Linked DNA regions of Homo sapiens: regions 1 and 2 are each linked to region 3. The links are contacts of gene promoters, found by promoter capture Hi-C in human tissues and cell types (Jung and others, 2019). All regions are on one chromosome and are shown on one strand. Each heading gives the region's core, a stretch centred on a gene start or on the middle of the fragment in contact. The rest is flanking DNA. Distances are from core to core; before and after follow the strand shown.

The links. Contacts are between HindIII fragments. The study calls those that stand out against the background at their distance.
Region 1: a contact is called between a fragment that was not itself captured here and the fragment with the promoter of FOXG1 in region 3, in 6 of the 25 tissues and cell types used here (H1 embryonic stem cells, heart left ventricle, lymphoblastoid cells and 3 more).
Region 2: a contact is called between a fragment that was not itself captured here and the fragment with the promoter of FOXG1 in region 3, in 3 of the 25 tissues and cell types used here (H1 embryonic stem cells, dorsolateral prefrontal cortex and neural progenitor cells).

What each region holds. Positions count from the first base shown.
Region 1 is chr14:29,318,203-29,321,558 of GRCh38, forward strand. All of the region lies in intron 4 of LOC102724934 (a long non-coding RNA gene), which reads right to left. Among named protein-coding and RNA genes, the nearest start is that of LINC02326, 250 kb to the left of the region's middle. The HindIII fragment of the contact is 5,587 bases long and covers 1-3,356 here.
Region 2 is chr14:29,347,252-29,350,496 of GRCh38, forward strand. The region is part of intron 3 of LOC102724934 (a long non-coding RNA gene); the gene reads right to left. Among named protein-coding and RNA genes, the nearest start is that of LINC02326, 280 kb to the left of the region's middle. The HindIII fragment of the contact is 3,855 bases long and covers 1-3,212 here.
Region 3 is chr14:28,764,720-28,768,036 of GRCh38, forward strand. It overlaps FOXG1 (forkhead box G1), which reads left to right and starts at 2,068. Exons shown (of 1, transcript NM_005249.5): 1 at 2,068-3,317. The coding sequence starts at 2,561. FOXG1-AS1 (FOXG1 antisense RNA 1) reads right to left here and starts at 600. Exons shown (of 7, transcript NR_125758.1): 1 at 441-600. RefSeq lists an enhancer at 1,199-1,723. The HindIII fragment of the contact is 7,501 bases long and covers 1,517-3,317 here.

The DNA of each region.
Region 1 (3,356 bases), core at 217-2,716, 550 kb after region 3:
ACCGCCAAAAAATTATACTGTTAATCTTTCCCTTGGCCATCCTCAAAGGTATCTATGGCCTTTTATCAAGGTCACTGTGCACTAGGGAAAAGAAAATAATCAGACTTTTCATTGATTCTGAATTGACACTTATTTCAGGAAACCTAAACATCACTGTGGTCCATAAGTCAGAGTAGCAGCTTATAGAGGTCAGAGTCAATGGAGTTTTAGCTCAGTGGGCCCAGTGGGTTTCTCGAACGCATCCTGTGGTCATTTACTCAGTCTGGACTGCGTAATTGGAATATATATACACAACAGTTGGCAGGACTCCCACATTGGTTCCCTAACCTGTTGAGTAAGGGCATTCTGGTGGGAAAGATCAAATGGAGGCTGCTAGAACTGTGTCTACCTTGGCAAATAGGAATAAAAAAAAAAATAGTGCATTCCTGGAGGAATTGTAGAGATTAATGCCATCATCCAGCACTTGAAAGGTGCAGAGCTGATAATTCCCACCACATTCCCATTTAACTCATCAATTTGGTCTGTGCAGAAGACAGATTGATCTTGGAGAATGACAGTGGATTTTCATAAGCTTAACCAGGTGGCGACTCTAATTGTAGCTGCTGTACCAGATGTGATTTCACTGCTTGAACAAATTAACACATCCCGTTACCTGGTAGGCAGCTATTGATCAGGCAAGTGCATTTTTCTTCATATCTGTTAAGAAAGATCACCAAAAGCAGTTTGCTTTCAGCTGGCAAGGCCAGAAATACACGTTCGCTCTCCAAACTTAGTGATATATCAACTATCCAGCCTTATGTCGAAATTTAGGTTACAGAGATCTTAATAATCTCTCCTTCTATAAGATATTACACTTGTCCATTATATTCACGACATTATGCTGATTTGACCTAGTGAGTAAGAAGCAGCAAATGCTCTGGACTTATTGGCAAGACACTTGTGTGTGTCGGAAGGTGGGAAATAAATCCAACAAAAATTCAGAGGCCTTCTACCTCAGTGAAATTTCTAGAGGTCCAGTGATACAAGGCGTGTTGAGACATACCTTTTAAGGTGAGGGATAAACTATTGCATCTGGTCCTTCCTACAACCAAAATAATAAAAATACATAATGGGCTTCTTTGGATTTTGGAGAAGATATATTATTAATATGGGTGTGTTACTCCTGCCTATTTGCCAAGTGACTCAAAAGTGCTAGCGTTTGAGGCCCAAACAAAGTGAAGGCTCTTTAATATGTCCAGGCTGCTGTGCAAACTGCTTTGCCACTTGAGCCATAATATCCAGAAGATACAATGGTATTTGAATTATTAGTGGCAGATAGAAATGCTATTTGGAGTCTTTGGTGGGTCCCTGCAGGTAAATCACAGCTCAGGCTCATGGAATTTTTGGAGCAGAGTCCTGGCATCCTTTGTGGATAACTTCTCTGTCTTTGAAAAACAGCTCTTAGCCTGCTACTGGGCCTTGGTACAGACCAAATGCTTAACTATGGGCCATGAATTAACATATAACCTGAGCTGTCCATTATGACCACCACCAAAAAGTGGACAGCTGCAGCATCCCTAAAGGTTACTGGTGAAGGGAAATCTGGGACATCCATAAAGCTGAGTAGTGAATGGAAATCTTCCCAGTGAACAGAATGCTGATCATTGCACCTGGTTGTTCACTTTGCTTGAAAGGAGAAATAGCCAGACAGGCAATTATATATAGACTTATGGGCTGTGGCCAATGTTCTGATTGGAACATAGAAACTTGGAAGAAACATAATTGGAAAATTGGTGCCAAGAAAATTTCGGGCAAGATATATGGATAGACCTTTCTGAATGGGCAAAAGAAATGTGAAGATATTTGTGTCTTAAGTGAATGCTCACCAAAACACGAACTCACTAGAAGGAGATTTTAATAATCAACAGTATAAGTTAACCTGTTCTTTAGATACCAGTCAGCCTCTTCCCCAACAACCCCTATCCTTTCCCAATGGGTTCATGAACAAAGTACACATGATGGCAGGGAGAAAGATCATATATGGGCCCAGCAACATGGACTTCCACTTACCAAGGCTTACCTGGCTTATGGTCACTGCTAAGTACTTAAATTACCAGCAGCTGAGACAATGAGTACACAGTATAATACCATTCCCCAGGGTGATCATGTAGCTATGAAGCTTTCTTATCTACTATCATGGTATTCCATGTAGCATTGCTTCTGGTCAAGAAACTCACTTCATAGCAAAAGCAGTTTGGCAATGAGCTCATGCTCATGGAATTCACTGGTCTCACCATGTCTCCCACCATCATAAAGCTGCTGAATTGATAGAAAAGTGGAATGGTCTTTCGATGACTCATTAACAGCCCCAGTTAGGTGGCAATATATTGCAGGCCTGGGACAAGGTTCTCCAGGAGACTATATATGCTCAGAATCAGCATCCAATATATGGTGTTGTTTATCCCATAGCCAGGATTCTTGGAGTCCAGGAATCAAGGGGTGGAAATGGGAGTGGCACACCTCAGTATTATCCTTATTGATGCAATAGCAAACCTTTGTTCTATCCCTTTAACTGTATATTGTGCTGACCTAGAGACCTTAGTTCCAAATGGAGGAATGCTTCTACTAGAAAAAGCAATATTTCCATTAAACTGGAAGTTAAAATTGCCAACTGGCCACTTGGGGCTTCTCAGGCCTCTGAAACAAGAGGCAAAGCAGAAAATTACTGTACTGGCTGGAGAGATTGATCTTGACTACCAAGAGGAAATTGGACTACTGCTTTGCAATAGAGATAAGAAGGAGTATGTCAGGAATACAGGAGATCTCTTACGGTATCTCTTTGAATTATCATGCCCTGTGATTAAGCTCAATGGAAATCTGCAATAACCCAATGCAGGTAGGACTACTAATGGCCCAGACTCTACACTCTTTTTTTTTTTTTTGAGACGGAGTCTCACTCTGTCGCTCAGGCTGGAGTGCAGTGGCATGATCTCGGCTCACTGCAAACTCCGCCTCCTGGGTTCACCCATTCTCCTGCCTCAGCCTCCTGAGTAGCTGGGACTACAGGCACCCACCACCACGCCCAGCTAATTTTTTGTATTTTTAGTAGAAATGGGGTTTCACCGTGTTAGCCAGGATGGTCTCGATCTCCTGACCTTGTGATCCACCTGCCTCAGCCTCTCAAAGTACCGGGATTACAGGCATGAGCCACTGCGCCTGGCCTAATGGCCCAGACTCTTTAGGAATAAAAGTTTGGGCCACTTTACAAGGCAAAAGACCACACTTGGCTGAAATGCTCTCTGAGGTAAAGGGAATAGAGAATAGGTCATGGAAGAAGATGGCCAGCCAAGCTGACAAGGGGTGGCCTTGTGCGAGTT
Region 2 (3,245 bases), core at 35-2,534, 580 kb after region 3:
CTGAAATTATATGACAAAAACTATCTTTTTTATCACCTCAGGGTGTTGGAAATCAAATATACAGTTTCTCCTACTTCAGTCATTGCCTAATGAACCATGACAAAGTAAGCTTAACGATGAGAAAACTTGTACCCATAAGTTTTCTCCAAGTTCATAGGGCCTGTTTTTGTGAATCAAGACTATAAACCAGGTAGGTTCACTTCTTTGTCTGTTCTTTGTCTCTCAGCAAACACTTGAAATCCTCTTTCACTAGACAGATTTGACTAATGGATGATTACATTTTGTATAACACATATTTTATGTAGTTCAACATGGTTTAATTATTTAAAGAGATTCTTGGTCAGATCAAAGATGATTCTCGCAGTCATGCTACATGAAATTTGTGCATAAAATCAGAGTTGACCCATCAAGTTGATTTAGAAGTTTAGCAGCAGATTTTTTATTATTATTATTTTTTTAGATGGACTGTCACTCTGTCACCCAGGCTGGAGTGCAGTGGCACTATTTCGGCTCACTGCAAGCTCCGCCTCCCAGATTCACGCCATTCTCCTGCCTCAGTCTCCTGAGTAGCTGGGACTACAGGTGCCCGCCACCACACCCGGCTAATTTTTTGTATTTTTAGTAGAGACGGGGTTTCACCATATTAGCCAGGATGGGCTCGATCTCCTGACTTCATGATCTGCCCGCCTCAGCCTCCCAAAGTGCTGGGATTACAGCAGCAGATTTTAAAGCAACAAATTGAGATTCTAATATCCAGAGAAGATGGCCAAATATGGCCACCAAAGTACCTTTCCATCATTCAGAGTCTTTTTAAAATGATCACTATTGATTTTTAATCATAACAGCATCATCATTTATTGTGTGTTTCCAATGTGCCCTGCATTGTGCTCCCTATACATACAAACTTATTTCATCGCCTCAGTGATACAATAGGTAGGCATTCTTATCCTCACTTTGTAAGTCAATAAACAAAGGCTCAGAAAACTCAAGTTATGAACACAAATTTACACTGAGAGTGTCAGAATTGAGAGTTGAAGCCAGGTGTTTCTGAGTTAAAACCCAAATTCTCTACTGCTGTAATCTCTGCTTAAAACTACTAATGCTAGTTTTAAAAATGAGCTGATATATATTGAAGATTTTCTATGTATTATCAGACATTAAATGCTACATGTAATATATCATACAGTCTTCATAATAACTATTTGAGGCTAGGTACTATTATCTTCATTTTCCATGGAGGTTAAGAACCTATAAAAGTTATGCAATGTCTTCAAGTTTACTTGGTTAGAAAGAGGCAAGAAGAAGGTTTTAGCCTAAAGAGACTGGCTTCATCCACTTCTCGATGTTGCCTCTCAAGATTTCCTTATTTCTATGAATACATTGCTGTTCTCTAAGTGTATTAGTCAGGAGAAGATCATCAATGTGTCATAACAAATGAATCCAGAATTTCAGTACCTTACAACAGCAGAGTGTAATTTTTCACTCATCCTTTGTCCATTGTAGCTGTGGCTATATTCCAAATGTGCATTACAGGAGGAGACTAATAGGTCAGCCTCTACCTAGACATGGTCTCATAGCAAAGGGGGCAAAAAAGACATAGTCACTCATATACTGACTTTCAAACTTCTGCCTGGAGGTTTCATGGCCATTCCTGAATCCAGCTGTGTGGATTGGCTGGTGGTTGGCTCCACAGTGACATAAATCAGACTATTTGGGAAATGGGTGTGCTGGTGTCTGGCACAGTGCTGCCAGGATGTGAATATCCATGCATAAGGTGACAGGATACAACTGGGATTTTTTGAGTTTGTGCCTCTTCAGAAAAACTCAGCTCTTTGATTACTAGGGTAAGATGCACAAGGCAGTAGTGCAGGATGGAAGAATTAAAATAAACAAATAAATCTGATGGGCTAGTATAATATTCTCTACTAGTATATGAGGCACACAGTTTGTAGTTTAATACTTTCATCTGCTTAGGAAAGGAGACTTATTTATAGGAATTTATTGATTGAGGAGAATAGATATTATTGTATCCTGCTAAGCAGTGTATTCAAAATACCTTAAGTGCTTTCAAAAACATACCTATGAGAATACGTCCCTACTGGCATTTCTTAGAATAGGAAAAAGGAATGAAAATAATCTACATACCCAGTGGTAGAATATGGGTTAAATGAATTACATGTCCATTAATGGAATTCTATATTGCAATGAAAATAATATTTAATGATATGGAAACTGTTCATTATATGGTAGAAAAATCTGTTTATAAAACAATATTATTTTATAATTTTATATAATATGAATATATATTCATATATTATATATATTATATATTTTTATTTTATTTATTTTATTTTAATATATTTATGTATATTATATATATTTTATATATTATATATGAATATATATATTCATATATTTTATACATTGAGATGGAGTCTCGCTCTGTCACCCAGGCTGGAGTGCAGTGGCACAATCTCAGCTCACTGCAACCTCCACCTCCTGGGTTCAAGAGATTATCCTGCCTCAGCCTCCCAAGCAGCTGGGACTACAGGCGTGTGCCACTATGCCCAGCTCATTTTTGTATTTTTACTAGAGACGGGGTTTCACCATGTTGGTTGGCCAGGATGGTTTCGATCTCTTGACCTTGTGATCCACCCGCTTCGGCCTCCCAAGATGCTGGGATTACGGGCATGAGCCACTGCGCCCAGCCCATAATATGAATATATTTTTTATATAAAAGGCATATATTAGAAAAATCACTAAAATATTAAATGTTATGCCTATGATAATTTGTGGAGTTTTGCTTTGTTTTATTTTATTTTATTTTGTGTAAGAATTTGGGAGAAAGGGGACCTAGTCAAGAGTTTCCAAATCTTCTACAATGAATAGTTAATACATTTTAAAATAAATAAATAAATATTAATTAAATAATAAACTAAAGGACATGAGGAATAATGTGTAAAGCCCACGAAACTTTAAAATAACTCTATGTTTAAATAATAAAGAAAACAGAGAATTAAATTCAGATAATTCTTGGTCATTTGTCAGATCAGTCACAAAATAATAATGATCTTTTCTTGAACATTTCCCAGTCAAAATTAGATTCACATTTTATTTCCTCTTTAGACTCATCTTCTGCACAAAGCCTTGCTTGAGCCTCTGACTCTCACCACTCAGAGTTCCACATTAGGTTGGAAACTATTCATTTCTCTCTCCCACTAAATTATCTGAAACTTGGTGTCCTA
Region 3 (3,317 bases), core at 818-3,317:
TGGAACCCTTGAATTTTTCCACATGTAAATACAGTTTGTTTTAAAGTGAGAAGATATGTAGACATAGGTAAAGATACATACATACAGTGGAAGGACATTTGAGGTTAGTCCAATATTCAAAGCTCCTTTGTGGCATTCCTAATAGATGCATATTTAAAATTCACTAGCTATTTGTAATTATCTATTATTCTCTCCAGTTTCCTCCCCCCCCCCCAACCTTTTCTCTCTTTCTCTTTCTTAAGACTGGGGGTGGGGAGGATGGAATAACCCCCTATTATCCTGAGTATTCATCAACCGCATTCTTTATGTTACAATTTAACTTTAGGATCAAGCATAAGCACCAATTTTCCTTCCTTCGTTTTCTTAAATACCAAATCTGCCAGATATCTTAATGAAAGTTTATCCAAGTGAAGAAATGCTTACATTTTATAATTATTTACCTTCTAGAGGAAGGAAAAGGTGCCTTTCATTTATGCTTCTCCACCTCCCTCTTCTCTGGGGCTACATCCTCCGTAAAATGTGGTATGTTTCGTGCCCATGTGGGATGAAACAGCCTTTGATCAATGTGCTCCCCACTAAATTCCAATCCCTGGGAAATGCTGGGCCTTAGCCCTGCCCCTGGCCACGGGATCCTTTTAAAGCCCCCGATTCGCAATTTCCCCATTCACTTCAACCTCCAACCGAACCTTCCCAGTTCCAAAGCCCAAGAAGCTGGGACTGTGAGATCCACGTTCCCAAGGCTCCCCGGTGCTTTCCAGCAGCACTCAGGGTTGGCAAGAGCTGGCTTCAGTATACTGTTATTTCAGGAATGAGGCCCGCACAAAATAAAAGCATTTGAGAAACGGAAAGGAAAAAAAAGGAGTGAAAATAGGAAGGCTTAAAAAAAAAACCGGAAAGAAATAGACGCCCACCCTTATTTTCCCTCCAATGTCAACAAGCAAAACGAAAATATTTCCAGGGTGATCGCTCGCAGCTACCCGCTTCCAATTCGGATTAGAAGCTGAGGCTGGAGCGGCGAGGAGAAAACGACATCGAGTCACCCCGCGCGTGAGCGACGCTCTGGAGCAGGAGAGAAGGAAAAGGAAGAGACACACGTATATAGCATGTGTTACCTGATTTATTTCGAGATTGTTTGGTACTGTTTTCTCTCTGGGCACCTCTCATTTCGGAAGGCCATCAGAGGCGCCCACTACTGAGCGGCCCCGGCCGCCGCAGCAGCACCCGGAGCCCCAGTCCCGGTTTCCCCGCGGTGCCGGAGCCCGGAGCTCGCCGCCGCCCAGGCCTCAGGAATCGAGTAAGTAACCCCTGTTTGGCCCCGCGCTCCTCTGCCCACTTCCTCCTCCTCATCTCATCGCTCCCAAAGCTCTCCCACACCCTCCTCCCCCGAAGTAAAGGACACCCCCGCACACACGCCAGCGGTGGGCCTTATCTCCCCCCTTATCCAAAGCTGCGCTAGACTATTACCTACAAAGGGCACAATTTTCCTGCTGGCTCAGAAATGCCAGACACTGGCCTGCAAGGCCGACTCGGAAAAGTAGTGCCTCGCCTCTACCTCCTCCATTTCCTGCCCTCTCGCATCCTCTCCCTGCACTCCCACTCTTCCCACTACCACCACCACCCCCGCTTTCAAAAATAAAATTGGATACAAACTTTAATCACTAAGGACAAATATTGACGCTTAAACGAAAATGACCCAGTACAATGAGGAGGAAGCCGGAAATGTGAGCTATTGGCCCTAGGAGGGGAATTTCGGTGGAGCGGAGCCGGCGGGGTGGAGGGGGTGGCGGGGGCGCAGGGAAGGGCTGCGGCACCGCGTGCTCCCGCCGGCGTATCCCTACGCGGCTCCGCGCGGCCTCGGGGTCCGAGGCCCGCGGAGAGGGGGAGGCGAGCGCCCGAGGGGGCGGCAGCCGGCGGGCGGGGCGGGGGTGGGTGGGCCCGGCCCCTCCGATTGGTCGACGGCGAGAGAGACGCTCCCGCACGCCGCCAGCTCTGATTGGCCCAGCGGTAGGAAAGGTTAAACCAAAAATTTTTTTACAGCCCTAGTGTGCGCCTGTAGCTCGGAAAATTAATTGTGGCTATAGCCGCCTCGATCGCTGTCTCCCCAGCCTCGCCGCGGCCGCTCCGGGACGCGCCCGCCCGCCGCCCGGCTCTCCCCCCCTTTGGGCTGCTGCTGCTGCTGCTGTGACTGCTGCTGCGAGAGGAGGAGGAGGAGGAGGAAGCAGCGGGGGGGGGAGCGGGGGGTGGGGGGGGAGACCAAGAAGTACAGTTGGGAGCGAGGGAGCTTCACCCCCGGGGCGGTGGTTGTTTCTTTTTTCTTTCTTTCTTTTTTCTTTTCCTTTTTTTTTTTTTTTCTAATTCCTGAGGGGTGGTTGCTGCTTTTGCTACATGACTTGCCAGCGCCCGAGCCTGCGGTCCAACTGCGCTGCTGCCGGAGCGCTCAGTGCCGCCGCTGCCGCCCGCGCCCCCCGCGCCCCGTTCGGCACCCACCGGTCGCCGCCGCCCGCCGCGCCGCTGTCCCGCTCCCGCGCCGCCGCCGCCGTTTCCCCCCGACGACTGGGTGATGCTGGACATGGGAGATAGGAAAGAGGTGAAAATGATCCCCAAGTCCTCGTTCAGCATCAACAGCCTGGTGCCCGAGGCGGTCCAGAACGACAACCACCACGCGAGCCACGGCCACCACAACAGCCACCACCCCCAGCACCACCACCACCACCACCACCATCACCACCACCCGCCGCCGCCCGCCCCGCAACCGCCGCCGCCGCCGCAGCAGCAGCAGCCGCCGCCGCCGCCGCCCCCGGCACCGCAGCCCCCCCAGACGCGGGGCGCCCCGGCCGCCGACGACGACAAGGGCCCCCAGCAGCTGCTGCTCCCGCCGCCGCCACCGCCACCACCGGCCGCCGCCCTGGACGGGGCTAAAGCGGACGGGCTGGGCGGCAAGGGCGAGCCGGGCGGCGGGCCGGGGGAGCTGGCGCCCGTCGGGCCGGACGAGAAGGAGAAGGGCGCCGGCGCCGGGGGGGAGGAGAAGAAGGGGGCGGGCGAGGGCGGCAAGGACGGGGAGGGGGGCAAGGAGGGCGAGAAGAAGAACGGCAAGTACGAGAAGCCGCCGTTCAGCTACAACGCGCTCATCATGATGGCCATCCGGCAGAGCCCCGAGAAGCGGCTCACGCTCAACGGCATCTACGAGTTCATCATGAAGAACTTCCCTTACTACCGCGAGAACAAGCAGGGCTGGCAGAACTCCATCCGCCACAATCTGTCCCTCAACAAGTGCTTCGTGAAGGTGCCGCGCCACTACGACGACCCGGGCAAGGGCA